4 separate regions of the Homo sapiens genome follow, and all the other regions are linked to region 3. Evidence: promoter capture Hi-C in human tissues and cell types (Jung and others, 2019). All regions are on one chromosome and are shown on one strand. Each heading gives the region's core, a stretch centred on a gene start or on the middle of the fragment in contact. The rest is flanking DNA. Distances are from core to core; before and after follow the strand shown.

What was found. The method cuts DNA at HindIII sites, captures the fragments that hold promoters and counts their contacts. A contact is called where the count stands out against the background at its distance.
Region 1: a contact is called between a fragment that was not itself captured here and the fragment with the promoter of EDNRB in region 3, in 1 of the 25 tissues and cell types used here (aorta).
Region 2: a contact is called between a fragment that was not itself captured here and the fragment with the promoter of EDNRB in region 3, in 1 of the 25 tissues and cell types used here (hippocampus).
Region 4: a contact is called between a fragment that was not itself captured here and the fragment with the promoter of EDNRB in region 3, in 2 of the 25 tissues and cell types used here (H1 embryonic stem cells and spleen).

What each region holds. Positions count from the first base shown.
Region 1 is chr13:77,763,681-77,769,501 of GRCh38, forward strand. It overlaps SLAIN1 (SLAIN motif family member 1), which reads left to right. Exons shown (of 7, transcript NM_001242868.2): 7 at 1-549. Among named protein-coding and RNA genes, the nearest start is that of EDNRB-AS1, 52 kb to the right of the region's middle. The HindIII fragment of the contact is 6,663 bases long and covers 1-5,821 here.
Region 2 is chr13:77,699,356-77,703,075 of GRCh38, forward strand. All of the region lies in intron 1 of SLAIN1 (SLAIN motif family member 1), which reads left to right. Among named protein-coding and RNA genes, the nearest start is that of MIR3665, 3.1 kb to the left of the region's middle. The HindIII fragment of the contact is 6,253 bases long and covers 1-3,720 here.
Region 3 is chr13:77,917,457-77,922,883 of GRCh38, forward strand. EDNRB (endothelin receptor type B) reads right to left here and starts at 1,375. Exons shown (of 7, transcript NM_001122659.3): 1 at 635-1,375. The coding sequence starts at 1,117. RefSeq lists promoters at 1,304-2,376, 1,366-1,480 and a cis regulatory region at 1,732-1,741. The HindIII fragment of the contact is 11,006 bases long and covers 1-5,427 here.
Region 4 is chr13:78,045,938-78,051,848 of GRCh38, forward strand. All of the region lies in intron 5 of LINC00446 (long intergenic non-protein coding RNA 446), which reads left to right. Among named protein-coding and RNA genes, the nearest start is that of OBI1-AS1, 6.0 kb to the right of the region's middle. The HindIII fragment of the contact is 3,556 bases long and covers 1,886-5,441 here.

The DNA of each region.
Region 1 (5,821 bases), core at 1,756-4,255, 150 kb before region 3:
TATTTTTTGTGCCTATTTCTTTTTACACCTATGTGAACCACTATGGAACAACTTAAATTTTGTGCCATAAAAATATTTTTGTGGTAAGGTACTATTTTTTTAGCTCTAGGGATATATCAGCAAAAACACATCATGCAATTTGAGACACATAATTTTGTGTTGAATGAGCACAACATAATTTGAAGCATTGCAAGGAGATAACCAGACAGCAGAATTAAATGGTCCTGTCTTTTTCATTTTTAATTTATTGTCATACATGGGTTTCATATTTATAACGGCATCATGAGCTCATTGCACTTAATACCTGCAATGTTTGCTACTGTACCACAATTGATTTTCAATACTTTATTACGAAGGATGAAACTGTAATGTTTTATTAACAATGCTTCTGGAAATGAATGCATTTTAAAGCAAATAAATCTTTTTGATAGACCTTTTACAAAATCCATTTGCACTAATGAATGCTTTCTTATGGCATATAACTTAATATTTGTTACTGTGTACACTGCTGTTTTGGAATGTTCAGAAATAAAGACTCTATTTCAGCAATATCAGGTCATGCATGAATGTACAGCATAAACAGTGTAACTACACATGTGTTTCACTACAATTGTGAAAATGCTTATTGTTACTCTGTTCTTGTGCAGGGCATTTATATCTCAAGCAGGTAGACTTAGAATATTCACATTTGTAAAATTATTCTTCTTTTCCCAAGTACTCCTGATAAGAATTGTATGATTTTTCTTACATTAGTTTTAGTTAGGTAGTTTTACAGGGAGGTTTAGGTCCATTTAAAGAGGCCACTAAAACTCACGCAGCATGTTGCTGAGAAACACATTTACAGATGAACATTGTCAGTGGAGATTTTAATATTTTATAGGAGTTGAATTTGAAATACTTTCTCAGTATCAGTAAAATAGCAAGTACTATCCTTATTCTGCATTATATTTGATATATGTTGGAAAACTTTACTTGAAGGTACTGTGGGAAGTTTAGGCAAAGATTTTTAGGTTAGGTTTTGAAATGGAGTTCTACCTATAGTCATTAGAGGTTTTTAGTTTTTTTAAAGTGTACCTTTGTATGTAATTCTCTCTAGAACTAAAAGGAATGTTTGTTTAAATAACTTGCACTTTAAGTGGAATGTGAGCTAGAGGAGGTAAGATATGAAAAGGGAAGTAATATTTATTAAGCACCCCTTCAGTCAAAAGAACTGTGCAAGATATTTTATATACATTTGTCTAGGACTAACTTTCACCTACTATTATCACCATTTTAAAGATGAAGACACTAAGTCCCACAGAGGTGATTATTTGTCAGTTTTTGCATCACTATAAAGGAATACCTGAGACTGGGTAATTTATGAAGAAAAGAGGTTTAATTGGCTCATAGTTCTGCAGGGTGTACAGGAAGCGTGGTGCCAGCATCTGCTTGGCTTCTGGTGAGGCCTCAGAAAGCTCACAGTCATGGCGGAAGGCAAAGGGGGAGCTGGTGCATCACATGGTGAGAGTGAGAGCAAGGGGTGGGGCGGGGTTTCTACACTTTTTAAAAAAACAACAAGATCTTGTGTGAACTCAGAACAAGAGCTCACTTATCACCCAGGGGATGGCACTAAGCCGTTCATGAGGGATCTGCCCCCATGATCCAATCACCTTCCACCAGGCCCCACCTCCAACACTGGGGATCACATTTCAACATGAGATTTGGAGCAGACAGATATACAAACCATATCGTTCTACCCCGGCCCCCAAGTCTCATGCCCTCCTTGGATTGCAAAATGTAATCTTCTCTTTCCAACAGTCCCCCAAAGTTTTAATTCATTCCAACATCAAGTCCAAAGTCCTAAGTCTGATGTGAAACTCATCTCCTTCCACCTATGAGCCTGTATTATGAAAACAAGTTATTTACTTCCAAGATAATGGTGGTACAGGCATTGGGCAAACATTTCCATTCCAAAAGGGAGAAATTGGCCAAAAGAAAGGGGCAACAGGCCACATACAGGTCTGAAACCCAGCATGGTAGTCATTAAATCTTAAAGCTCCAAAATAATTTCCTTTGACCCCATGTCCTCCATTCAGGACACACTGGTGCAAGGGGTGGGCTCCCAAGGCCTTGGGCAGCTCTGCCTCTGTGGTTTTACTGGGTGCAGCTCATGTGGCTGCCCTCATGGGCTGGAGTTGAGTGCTTGCAGCTTTTGCAGGCTCAGGATGTAAACTGCCAGTGGCTTTACCATTCTGGGGTATGAAGGGCGGCAACCCCCTTCCCACAGCTCCACTAGGCCATCCCCAGTGGCAATTCTGCAGGGGGGCCTCCAACTCCACATTTGCTCTTAGCACTGCCCTGGTAGAGGCTGCTGTGAGGGCTCTGCCTCTGTGGCAGGTTTCTGCCTGGCCACCCAGGCTTTCTGATGCATCCACTGAAATCTAGGTGAAAGCTGCCATGCCTCCTTCACTCTTGCATTCTGTGTACTTTCAGACTTAACACCATGTGGAAGCCACCAAGGCTCATGACTTGCCCTCTAAAGAGGCAGCCCAAGGTGTGCCTGTGGCCCTTTGAGCCGAGGCTGGGCCCAGAGTGGCTGGGATGCAGGGAACGATACCCTGAGACTGCACAGCGCAGTGGGGCCCTGGGCCTGGCCCCTTAAACCATTCTTCCCCCATAGGCCTCCTGAGCCTGTGATGCATTGGGCTGCCTCAGAGATTTCTGAAATACATTTGAGGCCTTTTCCCTATTCTCTTCGCTCTTTTTCAGTCATGCTGATCTCTCAAGTGGTTACTCCACAGGCCACTTGGATTCCTTCTCTACCACAGGGCCAGGCTGTGACTTTTCCAATTTTTTTGTTTTGTTTTGTTTTGTTTTATACAGAGTCTTGCTCTGTTGTCCAGGCTAGAGTGCAGTGGCATGATCTCAGCTCACTGCAACCTCCACCTCCTGGGTTCAAGTGATTGTCCTGCCTTAGCCTCCAGAGTAGAGTAGCTGGGACTACAGACATTCACCACCACACTGGCTAATTTTGTATTTTTAGTAGAGACAGGGTTTTGCCATGTTGGCCAGGCTATTCTCAAACTCCTGACTTCAGGTTGATCTGCCTACCTCAGCCTCCCAAAGTGCTGGGATTACAAGGTGTGAGCCACTGCACCCGGCTGACTTTTCCAAATTTTACTCTCTGCTTCCCTTTTAAATATATATTCTGACTTTTAAGTCATCTCTTTGCTTCTGTATCTGATTATAGGCTGTTAGAAGCAGCCACAGCACTTCTTGAATGTTTTGCTGCTTAGAAACTTCTGCCAGATACCCTAAGTCATCTTAAGTTCAACCTTCCACAGATTCCTAGGACATCGGCACAATGCAGCAAGCTCTTTGCTAAGGAGCGACAAGGGGGACCTTTACTCCAATTCCCAATAAGTTCCTCATTTGCATTTGAGGCCTCTTCAGCCTGGCCTTCACTGTCCATATCTCTTGTCAGCATTTTAGTCATAACCATTCCAATCAGTTTCTAAGAAGTCCCAAACTTTTTCTCATCTTCCTGTCGTTAGCCCTCCAAACTCTTCTAACCTCTGTTACCCTGTTCTAAAGCCACTTCCACATCTTCAGTTATCTTTATAGCAATGCCCTACTCCTCAGTACTAATTTTCTGTGTTTATTTTTTTGCATTGCTGTAAAGAAATACCTGAGGCTGGGTAATTTATAAAGAAAAGAGGTTTAACTGGCCCACAGTTCTGCAGAGTGTACAGGAAGCATGGTGCCAACATTTGCTCAGCTTCCCAAGAGGAGTCAGGAAGTTTACAATAACGGCAGAAGGCAAATGGGGAAGTCAGTGTATCACACGGTGGGAGGGAACAAGAGAGAGAGGGCGGAGGTGCCAGGCTCTTTAGAGCTCTCATGCGGACATATTACCCTGGGGAGGACACCAAGCCATTCAAGAGGGAATCTGTCCCATGAGCCACAAACCTCCCACTAACCCACTTTCGACACTGGGGATTACATTTCAACATGAGATTTGGAGGGGACAAAATATCCAAACCATATTAGTGACATTAGTCTTGGGTAAACATTTAGCAATGTTTAAATAGTGCAGCTTACCTTTGAATCCAGGTTTATCTGGCTCAAAAGTCTTATTTTTCCCCACAACTATGCTCTCTTCCAATGAACACAGGTAGCTGGTATTTTTTTTAATCACTTTTTATTCTGCAGAGAAAAAGGATTCGATTCGTTCTCCATTCAAATGTTTGATTTATATTCAAAAAAGTCTGCTTAGCCCTTGCAATAAAATAACAAAGATCCCTTCATCTTGGCTTTTACATTCTTGTTGGGGAGAAACCATAAACAGGTAAGAAAATCACTGCAGGTTAGGTCATAAGTTCTGTGGGGGAAAAGAGGAGATCAAGACAAGAGGAGTTAAGAGAAAATAGGGGTGGGGAGAAATCATACTATTAAAAGGGTCACCTCAGTAGATATTAATATAGGAGTTAAATTATTTAGGCAGTTAGTGAGGGTACAGGAGTCTTTGGTAAGGTTTTCCTTTAATGAAAAGGCAGCCCCCAAATCATTTCTTTTCTAACAAAAAAAAAGCAGCCTGAAAAATCAAGCTGCAAACATAGATAAGCAACTGGAAGCTTGCATACGTGAATGCCGGCAGCCGTGCCAGAAGCATCCAACATGGAGGTTTTCTCTTCCCTTTTCCTTGTCACCACATGTGCAGGTGTCATGGCGCTGGCCAGGTAGAAACCCCATCTGTATAATAAAAGATTAGAGTGGGATGGCCAGCGTCTTCGAGGGCTATGTAAATGTCACACCTGGTCCAACCAATCCCCTGGGCCTTATGTAAATCAGATACCGCCTCCTCGAGCCCCTCTATAAAACCAACCGCATCCCGCTGCTAACAGGGAGATCCATTCGGAATCCCCCTCCCTCTACATGGGGCAGCTTTTCTTTTGTTTCTTTCACCTATTAAACTTTCCGCTCTTAAACCCACACCTTGTGGTCTTCATTTTTCTTAGTGCGAGACAACGAACCTCGGGTGTTTCCCCAGACAAACGATGCCACTTCAATATCGTTAAGGAGCTAGTATGAGCAAAGGCTTGACGATGGAGAGTTAGTCCTGAAGATGTTTCACAACCTTTTTCATCTGGAGTTCTACAGAACATGAAATAGTTGTAGTGACTATTTTCACAGTTCTTCCCAGGAGGGTTTATAACTATTATTATTTTAAATGCACAGGAAATAATTTAATACATTATAGATAGCGGATGTCCCAGGGCAGTGGTTTCAAAGTGTAATTCTAACACCAGCAGCATCTTTTGAGAATTTGTTAGAAGCTGATATTCTCAAGCATCATCCCAGATCTATTGAATGAGCCCTCTGGATGATTTGCAGAATACCCTTTGAGGAAAGCTGCTAAAAAAAGAGGGAATAGCCTGTGTGGAGGAAGGCTGTGAGGTGGAGCATGCCTGTGTGTTTGAGGAAGAGCAAGGAGGCCAGTGTGTCTGCAAACAGGGAACAAAGAGGAAAGCCATAGAAATGAGTTCAGAAAGGTGATGGGGCAAGGCCAGGTAGGATATGGTGGGCTACAAATGGACTTTGACTTAACTCTGAAACAGGAAGCTGTTGCATGGGTTTGGGCAGCAGAGTATGGGATTTGACTTATTTTAAAAAGCATTAACCTGGCACTTGGTGAGGATGGATTGTAGGAGGCCAAGTGTAGATGCTACCAGGATGAATTCAAGTATTTCGGTCTTTCAAATGAGATGATGAAGAATTGAACCAGTGTGGTAACCAGTGTGGTAGCATTTAAGATGGTAAAGTGGTCAGATTTTTAGATATA
Region 2 (3,720 bases), core at 1,221-3,720, 220 kb before region 3:
TTTTAGCTTGGTTATCAGAAAACTTGAGGCTGACAGCATTTATTCAGTTGACATCTGGTTAGCACTGTCTACTTTCCATGAATGAGTAACTTTAGGGGGAGGCTTGCTGTAGTCCTTCTTTACTTTAGGTCCTTTTTATGTAGGACCCTTTCTGTTTTTCCAAGCTGTGTTTTCATTACTTTCTTTGTGTCTCTGTTGCATGATTGCATGGAAGGGATTGGGAAATGGAGATCCTTACTGGTTTCCTATTGGGAACTGCAGTGTTCCTTTTCCCTTACACTCTGTCATGTGAGAGCTCTAACTGTAAAGTACATTAGTTAATTGGTTTCATTCAAGAATCAAAATATATGGAGTTACAGTAAGCCTTTCAGAGGTGTATTCATCATCCACCTTAATACTTTTTGGCAGCTGTGCAGGTAGCTCAAGGTGTAAAAAAATCAAACAACTCATCACTTTTGGGAACTTTAAGCCATTTTTTCAAAGCTGCACCCTTATTTCTGTAAAGTAATCTCAGTTTCAGTCTGAATGTGGTACTAGAAAATGCTCTCATGATGGTCCTTAGATTTCACTAATAACTCTCAGCCCTTATGCCACTTTCAAATTATTTTAGGTTGATTTAGTCCCTACTTAGCCTTTTCTGATGGTATGTATGTAAACAGTGGAAGGAAACTTGTTTACATTTTTGATGGGGAGATATATGGGATCAGTTTTATGCTTAAAATATTTGCATTTTAAAATTTATTGTGATATTGTTTGTAAATATGAGATTAGTAATCTATTAATAACTTTCCTTCTTTTGAATGGATTTCTGTCATATTTAGTTAGCATCCTATTACTAGCATTTTGGTACCTAGGCTTTCTTTTTATAGTTTAATTTTGTCCAAATAGCATTGAAATAATCAACTTTAACAGAAATCACCCACTTAGTGGTATTAGTATATTAGCTCTTCAGATGGTTTGAAGCAAATCAAAGTTGAAGCAGGTTCTATTTCATTCAACAAGTACACAGGTGAATAAATCAAAGCCTTGATGCTTTACAAATGTTTCTAGAGACAAATGGCAGAGAATCTTCCTGAAAACAAGCCTGAGATTAGAATTCCAGGTGGAAAAACAAGGAGGGTTCATTAATCTTAGTGGGATGGTCTTAAAAATTTTAAAGTTACCTGATTTACATAATTTTATTATTACATTTTATGCATCAAGATTTTGTTTGCATTGCAAATCTTTTTGATGAAGAAAATATCAACAGGGTTTAATTTTTAAAGTTTAACCCACTTGTTAATGCTTGCAAAGCACTCTGTTCCTTTATCACTGCAGACTATAGTGTCCCAGTAGTGTGGTCTCAGAAATAAGAGTGCTGTTCATTTGGTTCCCTGATATGTTTGCAGGATGGCAACTTATTTTTATTTCCTGTGTTTATTAAGAAACAACTGGAGTGGGTATATAGTACCTTATTTTAAAAATATTTAAAACTACAAGTTTTACATGCTCATTGTAAAAAAACTAAAACATAGATGTAGGTATAAGGTCACAAAAATTATCTTCCTTGTCCCCAATTTATTACCGTGACTCAGAATTCACCCTGTTAATACTCTGCAGCTCCTTCAAGATAAAAAAATATAATTACAACAATCAATATACAAACATATACACATCAGTTTTTTTTAACACTTGCCTTTCATTGAACATACATTGGACATTTGTGTATTCATGTGACATCACATCTCCCAGTAACAAAGGCATCATTATTAGAGTAACAATATTAAGGAACAAGTTACTGTTAACTGTATCACCTACAGTTTTTCATGCATTTTTTATTGTGATTTCATCCTAATGGGTTGAACAAAATGTGTTTGCTTATTTATTTAGAATAGCACTTCCTGCTAAAAATGTCATAAGTTCAGGAAAGTTTACAAATGTAGATTAATCACTGGATATTTTAGCTATTCTTTTATGTAAGTATATCTTTTCTAATAAAACCTTAGAATACATTATTTTCCTTTTATTAACAACTTGGACAATATTTGGGTTAAGAGTTATGTGTGTAAGGAAAATCATGACTAACAGAACCAATATTTTCTTTATGATAGTTCATTAGTTAATGATTAACCAGGTCTTTGAGATCATTTTTCTGAATAATTATTTAACCTATAAGTAGTATCTTAAAAAAAACAGCTTTAAAGAGAATGGAGTGTTATGCTCTCCCTTTTGACAAAAAAGCTTTGATGAAACAATTTTCTTATTTCTTTGAATATTTATCTTAATTGAATTTTAAGTCTTGAATGTTGCCTTAATACTACCTGATTATCTTAGCACAGTATTGCTGGAATTAAGTGTCTCAGAAAGTTAAAGTTGATGGCAATTCCAGAACCTGAATTCTTTCTTTCTTTCTTTCTTTCTTTACTTATTTATTTATTTTTTATTATTATACTTTAAGTTTTAGGGTACATGTGCACATTGTGCAGGTTAGTTACATATGTATACATGTGCCATGCTGGTGCGCTGCACCCACTAACTCATCATCTAGCATTAGGTATATCTCCCAATGCTATCCCTCCCCCCTCCCCCCACCCCACTACAGTCCCCAGAATGTGATATTCCCCTTCCTGTGTCCATGTGATCTCATTGTTCAATTCCCACCTATGAGTGAGAATATGCGGTGTTTGGTTTTTTGTTCTTGCGATAGTTTACTGAGAATGATGATTTCCAATTTCATCCATGTCCCTACAAAGGACATGAACTCATCATTTTTTATGGCTGCATAGTATTCCATGGTGTATATGTGCCACATTTTCTTAATCCAGTCTATCATTGTTGGACATTTGGGTTGGTTCCAAGTCTTTGCTATCGTGAACCTGAATTCTTAAGTCATCTTATAGCCCTATAGTAAAACTCTCATCCTGCTATACTGATTCCTCAGTTATCTTACTAATTTGATAGGCTTAGCTCTCCAGAAGGCCATTGGCTAGAAAGGAAAAGGGAAAAGTCTGAGTATCAGGAGCAAATAAAAAGCTCAAAGGGACTAAAATATCCATGCATACATGGGACACAGTGTGATTGGATGCTTTTTCTATCTTTATGGAAGAAATGTTTTTAAGATTTATATTTGTCCTAATGTCACCAGGCTCTGCAGCACCAGAGTACAAACAGAGTAATTCAGATTGGTCTGAAGTGGCAATGGGAGCCATTAGCTAACTGCATACTAGACCTTCCTATGACCTGTTTCAGCCCTCTTATTTCAGTGTTGAGGGACGGGAGCTCTGAGGCAAAATGGCTTATGTAAGCTCTTCTAGTTACTGATAGAGTTCAGACTAAAAATCAGATTATTTGTCCAGATTCAGAAGTGTTTACATCACTGATATTTTTTTTTCCCCAGAGCTAGCTGTGTAACTCATTAGTAAGTTTATAAAGTCAATTTAGTGGATTGACCAGCATTTTAAAAAAGTGAAGTGCAGTAGAATAGAAAATCAGAGTTTATCACATCTTATAATACAATGCTTGCTTTGATTAAATATGTTTTAGTTTTATAGATGTGGAAATATTAAACGTATTTTTGCATTATGATCAAAGTTAACAAAACTCTATACTGTTTGAAAGCAAAACGGAGAAAGCAGGTGGAAAAGCACTGAAGATAGTATAGTACTCTGAAGGGAAGTTAGGTCTTGCACACCTCAACCAGGAAGATGGTTCTATATGAGAAAATGCCACGATAAAAATAAG
Region 3 (5,427 bases), core at 125-2,624:
ACTTTCAAAGTCTTCCAAAACAGTCCTTCCCAAAGTTAGTGGGCATATCAATCACATGAAGATCTTAAGATGCAGATTCTAACTTAGTAAGTCTGAGGTAGCCTTGCATTCCTAACAAACTCTCAGGTAATATTGATGCTGACTGTCCATGGACCACACACTTTTGACTAGAGGATGTACCCCATTAGGTGCACTTAGGGACTAGATCCTTCAGGACTAGTGGTTCTCAAACTTTACAGTTCATCATAATCACATAAAGGGCTTGTTAAAATACAAATTACTGTGCTCCACTCCAGAGTTTCTGATTCAGTAGGTCTGGGGTGAGGCCAGAAAAATCTTCATGTGCACCAAGTTCCCAAAGTGATACTAACATTGCTAGACTGGGGACTACGCTTGTCCTAAGCTTAGCAGAGGTCTACTGAAGACCTGAATGGAATTTTATTCCAATGGTTACTGACTTTTATGAGTGGACAGAACCAAATGGAATTTGGTTCCAAAGATTACTGACTTTTAGGAGGGGCAGAACCTTAAGAGGGAGCTAAAGGGAAGCTCCCTCTACAAGCTTTCTCATCTCCCCGTCTCCAACCAGGCCCCCTTCCTCAAGCCCACCATGATTTCAGCAGGCGCCCTTTACCTTGTAGACATTGATAGGGATGTCAATGACGATGTGCAGCAGGTCTCCCAGAGCCAAGCTGGCGATCAAGATATTGGGACCGTTTCGCATGCACTTGTTCTTGTAGATAATTCTCAGAAGTGTGGAGTTCCCGATGATCCCCAGCACGAACACAAGGCAGGACACAACCGTGTTGATGTATTTGAAAGTCTCCTTGATCTCGATGGGTCCTTGGCACGGGGGAGGGGAGATGGTGCGTGGCGGAGATCCTGCCGTCCTGTCTCCTTTAGGCACCTCCGCAGGTGCCAACGACCGCGCCAGACTGGCGTTGGAACCCTTGGGCCATAAGGTCTTAGTGGGTGGCGTCATTATCTCTGCGGTTTGCAAAAGCGGAGTGGCCCTGTCAGGCGGGAAGCCTCTCTCCTCTCCCCAGATCCGCGACAGGCCGCAGGCAAGAACCAGCGCAACCAGGGCGCGTCCGCACAGACTTGGAGGCGGCTGCATGCTGCTACCTGCTCCAGAAGGCGTCCGGTGGCCGCTCCGCAGTTTCAGAGCCTAGAGACAAGCAGAGGAAGGAAGACAGGACACTTGGGTCAGCTGCCCGAGCCAAGTCGCTGCAAACGCTAATACCGCCCGCAGCCTCTTCGCCAGTATCCACGCTCAAAAGTAACTCAAGTTTGCGCGCCAGTGGGAAACTTGGCGCTCATGACTCGCCAGCGCGGGTCGAAACTCCTTCCTGATGCCCTCTCAGCTGTTTTTCTTCCCCCGCGTGGCCAGGAGGGGTAAATAATATGCAGTGGGGCGGGGCGTTCTGGAAGGGGTGTGCCAGGGAGGGAATGATGGGGGTCCCAGGCAAAGCTCCGAACTCTTTCACGTAACGGGAGGAATACAGACACGTCTTAGTTAAGCGTGCGTGGGAACCGCGGAATTAAGGCACCTAGAGGCCAAGGGCTTGTGTCAAGCTCTGCATTTTGCCCCGCAGGGGAACCTCTATACCCCGCGATTGAACTCGAAAGACTCCTCCCGGCGGATGAAAGCCGCTACTCCCTGGCTGGCTGAGCTACAGCTCCCGCAGCGCGCCCAGGAGTGCGCCGGAGATTCGGAAACCCGCAGAGACTTCTCAAGTCAGCAGGAACTTGGAAACCGCTGTTCCCTCCAAACGGCTTCAAACACTCGCGCTCCTTCCTTTACCCAACCTAATTTTAATTTGCCCTCTCTATAGGCTTAATTTTTATTTTTTTAAAATCCCAAACTAGTAAGCCAAACCGAAGCCCCAGAATAAGGTTCAATCAATGATTTTAATTCAACACCAAGCCCGAATGTTTACCTCTCGGATCTGACAAACCAGATGCAGAGCGACGAATGGAGACCACCTTCCCGGGAGGCGGAACCCAGCTGGGTTCCAGCCTGCTCTGGGAGAGGAGCACGCCTCCCTTGAGCTGCAGGCGGGTCCGGCTCTGACGAAACGCTGCGAGAATGCCAGACAGTGTAGCCTCCACCGTTTGCTCGGGGTCTCTGCTGCCATCAGACAAGTACTTTTATTCATTCATCCCTTCCCATCAATCACCGCCAGACTCCTCCCGCGCCTTCCGACCCCGCTGCAACCTTTCCCCTTGGGCGATGCCTGGACAGCATCAGTAGTAGTTGCCCGAGGGAGGGGGGCAGTCCTCGTCCGGGGACAGGTCCCAAAAGGCTGTTTATTTGTTAGAGTTCTACGCTCTTCAAATGAACCCAAATCAAGGGCAAGTTATCACGCACCATGTGACACCCGGCAGCTCCAGACTAGAACAAGGCTCTGCACTGAACGTGATAATTGAACTTTTAATGCCAAGTGTCACTTTTCTTTCAGGTAAATGTTCCGCCGCTGTGATATTTAAGGTTGGTTTGTGGGCGCTGCTCTTTGCTCTGCTTCATTTTGCCCTGAAGTTTCATTTCAAGCCAACATTAACCCCAACACGGAACAGCTCGATCTTTTCTTCCCAGGCCCTCTCACTGCCCCGAGAGAGGATTACAAGTACTCCTCATTTTCCCCAGTACAGCTCTTCTCCTCTCTTCCTGCCACAGTATCGGTGTTAGGCAATCTCAGGCATTTTTATACTGTACCTATGACAGACTTGATGCTTATCGGAGACATGAAAATAATCAGAAAGCTGCCATGCAAATTCAACATGATATTTATTTACCAGGTAGAGCAATACAATAAGGTCTTTCTATCCATTCTTGAGCTCCATGTTTACCGCAGAGAGGAAAATAACAGCGACTGGTAGTTTTGCCCAGAGATTGTATAAAAGAGGTCAGGAAGTCAGGCTTGGAGATGCACTGGAGAGTACTGTGCCGTCCTCCAATCAGCAAAATCCCTACTGGATCTGTGGAACTTCAAACCCAGAAGCACCCATTCCATGTAGCAGTTTCACCCAGAGACAGGAGGCTCGTTTTTTGCTTCATGTTAGTTAATGGAATAGATGGGACAAGAACCTTGGATTTTTGGCTCTTAGGCAATGCTTTCTGGGACAGTGGAAGTAGAAAATCAATTTCTATTTAAAAAGGTGAACTTTAAGTGTGAAATGTGGTTAGGAACATGGTTACGGAGTAAGGCTAAAGGAATGAGAAATATGGTCTAGGGTTGTGAGTGCTAATTCCAAATCTGGCTATTTTGAATTGCAGTCCTTATCCTCCCTGTCTCGTAAGAACGAGGTCAACATTCAATTGCTGAGCCAAGTAACAATATACAATGTTGTCTGAATAAGGAATTATATGGAAGCTTTGGAATATGAATATTTTGCTTAGTTGACTCCACCCAGTGTTGGATCTGCCCTTCCTATACAAGCTTTGTTGGGTTCATGCCTATGGCTCCTGTGGGGTGACTTTTCTCTCTCCCCACTGGCCTTCTCATCATCTCCATCTCCATTCAAATTTCCTCCACTGAGTCCTGGAAGTCTGCTCTAATCCTCACTGAGGTCTATCTCTTTACTTTTCTTGGAGCACTTTTGGACTGTTAACCACAACTTAGCAAGCACTTGATCACATAAGAGACATCTATGGGTCACTATTGATTTCGTGTGACTTAATTTCTTTTACAGGACAGGGACTTGAATGAGTTATATGTTCTTTCTGCACCATCCCACTACCTGCCACAAAATGAGCTTAAGAAATATTTTTTATAAATTGATAATGATATTTTAAAGTATTCAGTTATACTTTATTAACTGGTCATTGGGCTCAAGAATAAGGCCAAACAATTTTAAGGTAAATATACACATTCCTCATTTGGAATTTAAAACACAGTATCAGCTACTCCTTACAGGGTCTACCACCTGCATTAGACACCTTTTCACAGTACCTCATTGATTCTCTGATGTTTGTCTTCCAGCTCTGTATTATTTTCTATGATGTTATAGGCAGTGAAACTGAGTCTCAGTAATTCACTTAAGGTCATGTGGCTAGTTAGTTGTGGGACCAGGATTTGGAGCTAGGATTTGAATGCATGTCTAAATGGTTACACAGACTATGCTTTTTATTATTGTAATTGCAGAAAGCCTAAGCAAATTTTTTTCTTATTTTGGGGAAACAGTGTTCTAGACATCAGTAATATGCAATTGAAGTTTAACCTTAAATATTTCACCTTAACATGTAAAGACAACCATGTGAAATGTAAAGAATTGTTCATTGATCTTCATGAATGACTGGGTGTCAGTTTCCCCTTTTGTAAAATGGAAGAAAAGGATTAAAGTTACTTCTTGCTCCAATAAATCAGTCCGACTGACAAACTGCCTCTGTAGGAGTGTCTTAAAGTGCAGAAAAGTGGAAACAGATTCTAGGCCAATATTTTTTTTTAATGTTACTTTCATTACTCATGCCTTGAGCAGTACTGCTATGGATATAGTTTTTTTTTCATCTTATTACTTAAAATCTGTTATCGATAAATTTTATTTATGAATTCACTAGCAACTAACTACTATGTAAATTTCACTTCTATATATGAGCAAAAAGTTGTATCAAATTTTAAGAATTCCTACCTGCAAACTTGTGAACTAATTTTGCATTTATGAGAGGATTTTTTTTTTTTGGCTAGGTAAATGTGGAGTCTTTTACAAAGTTGCTTATTTTAAACGTTTATGAAGTGTCTAGGAAATCTATCAAAATTCCAGATTGGCTAAGATCACTTCTCAAAGTTAGAAAGTTGAAGATAGACAATGTCCCAGTATTTCCTTTAAATGCTTTATCTAGAAGTTCCTGAAGACAGGGTTTAATGCAATTCGGAATTCATTTCTCAAAGAGGTTTGCCATGGGGAGCATTCCCAAAATAAACCTTTTCGCCTGGTGACAGAACAAAGAAAAGCCCTTTTAGCCACACAAAAAAGTTAGTACTTTCATGTAATCCTCTTGAAATGAATGTGCCCTCAAAACCTATGTTGAACTCTCTAAATCATGAATGCTGAGAGACAAGGTGTGCGAAAAACACAGAAAGAGTTGGTTCAACTGGTTCTCCACATATTCCTCTGGGACCAGATTCAATGATCAAATAGTGGTTGAAGTAAGAGAATAAAAAAGTTTTAAAGTGACTGCAAAAGTCAATAGCAAACAGCATGAGAATTTCTATTTCTTGAGTTTTCTTTTCTATTAAGTGACTGTAGCTATCTGGATCCATGATAAAGAATCTTTTTTAATTAAGTATAATGTATGTACAGTGAAATGGACAGGGCTTAACTGCAGCTTGAAGAGTTTTGCCAAATGTTTGCAATCCTGTGACCCATACCTAAGGGGCTCTTTGAAAATTCATTTATTCTTTAAAAGTGGTAAAATTTGAATATTTT
Region 4 (5,911 bases), core at 2,414-4,913, 130 kb after region 3:
ATTTTTCGCATATGGGAACTGAGCAAAAGGGGTTGTTCAAGGCCACTCCACCAATAAGAGCCAAATTTGGAAGGAGAGTGCAGGTCTCACAGCTGCTGCTCCAGGATGCAACCCGTTGTGTTGCACTGTCCCTTGATAATTGGATTTTAATCAGGTCTGTGGATAAGTCTCACACACACACACATACACACACACATGCAAAACAGAACTTTGGATAAGATACAAGAAAAATGATCTCACCAAGAATGTACTTTAGTGAGAGGAAGCAGTTACTTCAACATAGACAAAGGCGAACAGCAGACAAGGAGGAAGCAATTAAATAGAAGGAGTCCACTAGTTTGTTTCATTTTATTTATCATTATATTGAGCATAGTGTCATTCAGAGGCTACCAGAAAGACCCCCACCTTTGAGCCTATGCTAAGGGGATCCTGGAAGCCTTCGCCAGGGTGGCTGAGCCACTGCTGTGAGGTGAGCAGAGCCTCAGACCCTGACACCCTCAGGGAGAAAGTAAGGGAGTGACTGTCAATAATTAAACCATCTGTAACCCTTTATATTGTTTTGGTTCTCAGAAACAAATCAAGGACACCACACATAGAATGTAAATTGGCCTTTGTAGTCTTGCCCCCTGGTATAATTAGCAGATGCTCTTTCTTAATGCAGGCCAGTTCAGGGGAAATCTATTTGCATAATGAAACACACTATTTCCATGTACACTGAAACTCAACTTCTTCAAGTTTCTACGTTCTTCTTGTTGGGACTACTTGGAAAAGAAGTATTTTATTATTGTGCATCCCCAGAATAGAATCTCTAGACCTGGGAATCCCCAAAATATAGTAGGGATAAAGAACCATTTTTAAAAATATCAGCAAATGAAAGAGAAATGTATTAAGTGTTGTAAGCGATCCTAAAGGATAGCTAAGAATCTTAAAGGATTCTTTGCTTTGATATGCAATCATGGAACACTGATAGCATGAGTGAAAAAATGTAACTTTAATAAATATGGTGTCTTTGGAAGAACAAATGTTTCAAAATGAGGCATATAGAGGAGAGGGGAAGAGAGAGAGAAAGAGAGAAGAAATATTAAAAATATTTTCTTAGTAGATAAAGGGAGGTCAGAGAAGTGATTTTCAGGTAGAAGAGATAAAAAGAGATGAGGGCTTAGGGAACCATAAAGGAGGAAATGGTATAAGAATGAGGGCGTTGTCGCAAAGACTTGTCAAGGTCTGGAAAATGTTTCAGTGTAACTATAGAAGAGAGAGATGTTAAATTTTGCTTGACTACCTAAATCTTCTCTTGCTTCATCTGCCAAAGTACGCTTCACTGGAAAAGAAGGGAGACCTTTCTAGCAGGTCTTCTACAGGATTTCTTTGCAATAAAAATATACAGAAGTAGCACACATGTCCACCTGTAAGCTGGCAAATTGCCAATTAGTAGAAAGTCTATAAGTAAATTTAGCTAAATATAAAAGAGTACAACTTAAAGTACAATACATTCAAGTTAAGAATATAAAACTAATATATTGTTTAATAGTAGCTATGATGAGATTATCATAGCCCAGGTGGTACTATTGAAATATTGAGAGTAAGATGTGTGTCCATGTTTAATGTTGTATACAGTAGGATTTTTATTAAAAACAAAAAAACTAAAAAACCTGTAGGCAACTTAAATTTTAAAACATAGATAAAATAGATACATATATTTTTTATTATTATTATCCTTTAAGTTCTAGGGTACATGTGCACAACGTGCAGGTTTGTCATGTATGTATACATGAGCCATGTTGGTGTGCTGCACCCATTAACTCATCATTTACATTAGGTATATCTCCTAATGCTATCCCTCCCCCCTCCCCCAACCCCAGGACAGGCCCTGGTGTGTGATGTTCCCCACCCTGTGTCCAGGTGTTCTCATTGTTCAATTCCCACCTATAAGTGAGAACATGCAGTGTTTGGTTTTCTGTCCTTGTGATAGTTGGCTCAGAATGATGGTTTCTAGCTTCATCCATGTCCCTACAAAGGACATGAACTCATCCTTTTTAATGGCTGCATAATATTCCACAGTGTATATGTGCCACATTTTCTTAATCCAATCTATCATTGATGGACATTTGGGTTGGTTCCAAGTCTTTGCTATTGTGGATAGTGCTGCAATAAACATATGTTTGTATGTGTCTTTATAGCAGCATGATTTATAATCGTTTGGGTATATACCCAGTAACGGGATGGCTGGGTCAAATGGCATTTCTAGTTCTAGATCCTTGAGGAATTGCCACACTGTCTTCCACAATGGTTGAACTAGTTTACAGTCCCACCAACAGTGTAAAAGTGTTCCTATTTCTCCATATCCTCTCCAGCACCAGTTGTTTCCTGACTTTTTATTGATCGCCATTCTAACTGGTGTGAGATGATATCTCATTGTGGTTTTGATTTGCATTTCTCTGATGGCCAGTGATGATGAGCAATTTTTCATGTGTCTATTGGCTGCATAAATGTCTTATTTTGAGAAGTGTCTGTTCATATCCTTCACCCACTTTTTAATGGGTTTGTTTGATTTTTTCTTGTAAATTTGTTTAAGTTCTTTGTAGATTCTGGATATTAGCCCTTTGTCAGATGGGTAGATTGTAAAAATTTTCACCCATTCTGTACTTTGCCTATTCACTCTGATGGTAGTTTCTTTTGCTGTGCAGAAGCTCTTTAGTTTAATTAGATCCCATTTGTCAATTTTGGCTTTTGTTGCCATTGCTTTTGGTGTTTTAGTCATGAAGTCCTTACCCATGCCTATGGCCTGAATGGTATTGCCTAGGTTTTCTTCTAGGGTTTTTATGGTTTTAGGTTTAACATTTAAGTCTTGAATCCATCTTGAATTAATTTTTGTGTAAGGTGTAAGGAAGAGATCCAGTTTCAGCTTTCTACATATGGTTAGCCAGTTTTCCCAGCACCATTTATTAAACAAGGAATCCTTTCCCCATTTCTTGTTTTTGTCAGGTTTGTCAAAGATCAGATGGTTGTAGATGTGTGGTATCATTTCTGAGGGCTCTATTCTGTTCCATTGGTCTACATGTCTGTTTTGGTACCAGTACCACGTTGTTTTGGTTACTGTAGACTTGTAGTGTAGTTTGAAGTCAGGTAGCGTGATGCTTCCAGCTTTGTTCTTTTGGCTTAGGATTTTCTTGGCAATGCGGGCTCTTTTTTGGTTCCATTTGAACTTTAAAGTAGTTTTTTCCAATTCTGTGAAGAAAGTCATTGGTAAGTTGATGGGGATGGTGTTGAATCTATAAATTACCTTGGGCACTATGGCCATTTTCACAATATTGATTCTTCCTATCCATGAACATGGAATGTTCTTCCATTTGTTTGTGTCCTCTTTTCTTTCGTTGAGCAGTGGTTTGTAGTTCTCCTTGAAGAGGTCCTCACATCCCTTGTAAGTTGGATTCCTAGGTATTTTATTCTCTTTGAAGCAATTGTGAATGGGAGTTCACTCATGATTTGGCTCTCTGTTTGTCTGTTATTGGTGTATAGGAATGCTTGTGATTTTTGCACATTGATTTTGTATCCTGAGACTTTGCTGAAGTTTCTTATCAGCTTAAGAAGATTTTGGGCTGAGATGATGGGGTTTTCTAAATATACAATTATGTCATCTGCAAACAGGGACAATTTGACTTTCTCTTTTCCTAATTGAATACCCTTTATTTCTTTCTCTTTCCTGATTGCCCTGGCCAGAACTTCCAACACTATGTTGAATAGGAGTGGTGAGAGAGGGCATCCCTGTCTTATGCCAGTTTTCAAGAAAATTTTGTATAAAAATACTGCTTACTCAAATTGGCCCCAGTAGAGAGAATATCTAAAGACAGCAATTGCCATAGAAGAAAAGGGGAAGCAGCTAACAAGCTCCATCACAATAAAAGCTTTAGACTTTGATGGCTTCACAAACTTCTTACTTCATTCTCTAAAGTGCACGTTAAACATCATATAATCTCAATGCACCTTAAGTCTTTCCAGTCCAGGGGAAAAGAGGTTAAACTTTTATTTTTATAAAATCAGCAAAATATTTTCTTCTATAACCTGACAGATTCAATGAAAAAAGAAAACTGCAGACCGATCCCATTTATAAATATCTGCATTAAAATCTTAGATCAATTACTAGCAAATAGATTTATTTAAAAACTCTATACATTATGACCAAGTAAGCTTTATTCTAGGAATTGAAGAGTCGTTAAATATCAGGAAGTCCCATTAATGAAATCTAACACATTAGAGTTAAGATAAAACACCTCATGCTTATATCTGCTTATATAGACACAGAAAAGGCATTTGACAAAATTCAAAATCTATCATGTTTTAAAAAAGTAAAAGGATCGAATAAGGTTGGAATTGATGGATTAAGTCCTTAATTCAGCAGTATATGTTATATAACTTCTATTCTAATAACCATCACTTTATTTCACAGGGGAATATTTCTTGCAAAATTTATAACAAGACCAGATATGTGTTTACTTATATCATAGATAAAAAGTCAATGTCTTTTTATATAAATAGCTTCTAAAATACAGAAGAGGCCAGTAATCCTATAGAAAATGACCTGATTCTAAGCTAGTTTGTCATTAAAATAATAATAGATTAAAATAAAATGATTTTCTGTAATTCTAAAATGAGCTATAGAATATGAGCAGAGTGAATTGATAAGTTTAAATATTTGTGAATAATGTGAAAAAAATGCTTAGTCTCACTCACAATAAGCAAAATACAGATTAAGAACATGATTATTCCAGTCTAGCCAACATGGTGAAACCCTGTCTCTACTAAAAATTAGCCGGGCCTGCGGGCATGTGCCTGTAAGCCCAGCTACTCGGGAGGCTGAGGCAGGGGAATTGCTGGAACCAGGGAGGTGGAGGAGGTTGCAGTGAGCCGAGATTGCGCCACTGCACTCAAAATTATGATCCAATTTCTGATTTATCAATTTGAAAGATTTCCCTAAATTTGACAAGTACTCTGTTTGAGAGATTATGAGTGAACATGCAATTATATTTATAACTGAAGAGAGCGCAAAAATATAAAACCCAATGGAAGGAAATTTAGCAATATCTAGAATAATTGCATATAAATTTATTCTCTGACCAAGTAATACCAATTCTAGGAATCAATAAAAAATAAAAGGCTTATGCTCAAAGCTGTTTGATACAACACTATTTCAAAAGCAAAAAGCTAAAGAGAAAAAATTCTATATGTAGGGGACTGCTGGAATAAAATATAGTGGACCCAAGCAATGAAATACCATGCGGCTATAAAAAGGAATGAGGGGCCAGGTGCCATGGCTCATGTCACTAATCTGAGCATTTTAGAAGGCTGATGTGGGAGGATCACTTGAGGATAGGAGTTCAAGACCAGCCTGGGCAACAAAGTGAGGCTCTATGTCTACAATAAAAAAAGTATTAAAATGAAAAAAATGGGCATGGTTGCATGCACCTCTAGATCTAGCTACTTGGGTGGCTGAGGTGGGAGGATTGCTGGAACCCAGGAGTTCAAGGTTACAGTGAGCTATGATCATGCCACTGCACTCCAACCTGGGAGACAGGACGAGACTCCATTGTTAACTGAAAAAAATTAAAAAGTAAAATAAAGGAATGAGGAATATCTCTATATACTGCCATGAAGTTTCCCAATAATATATTAAGTATCTGTCACACACAGACAGGTTTAGAGATTTGCCAGTTTGGTTTGGAGCAGGAAGGTAGACAGAAAGGAAGATCCACAGAATAAAAGAGCACTTGATATGGTAGATGGACGATTTAGAACTAACAGTATTTGATTAATATATATGGCAAGAGCAAGAAAAAGTCTGAAGCACAAAAGCAAATAGAATCATAGTAACTTTCTGACTGTTTAATCAATTATTGTATTTACATAGACTTAT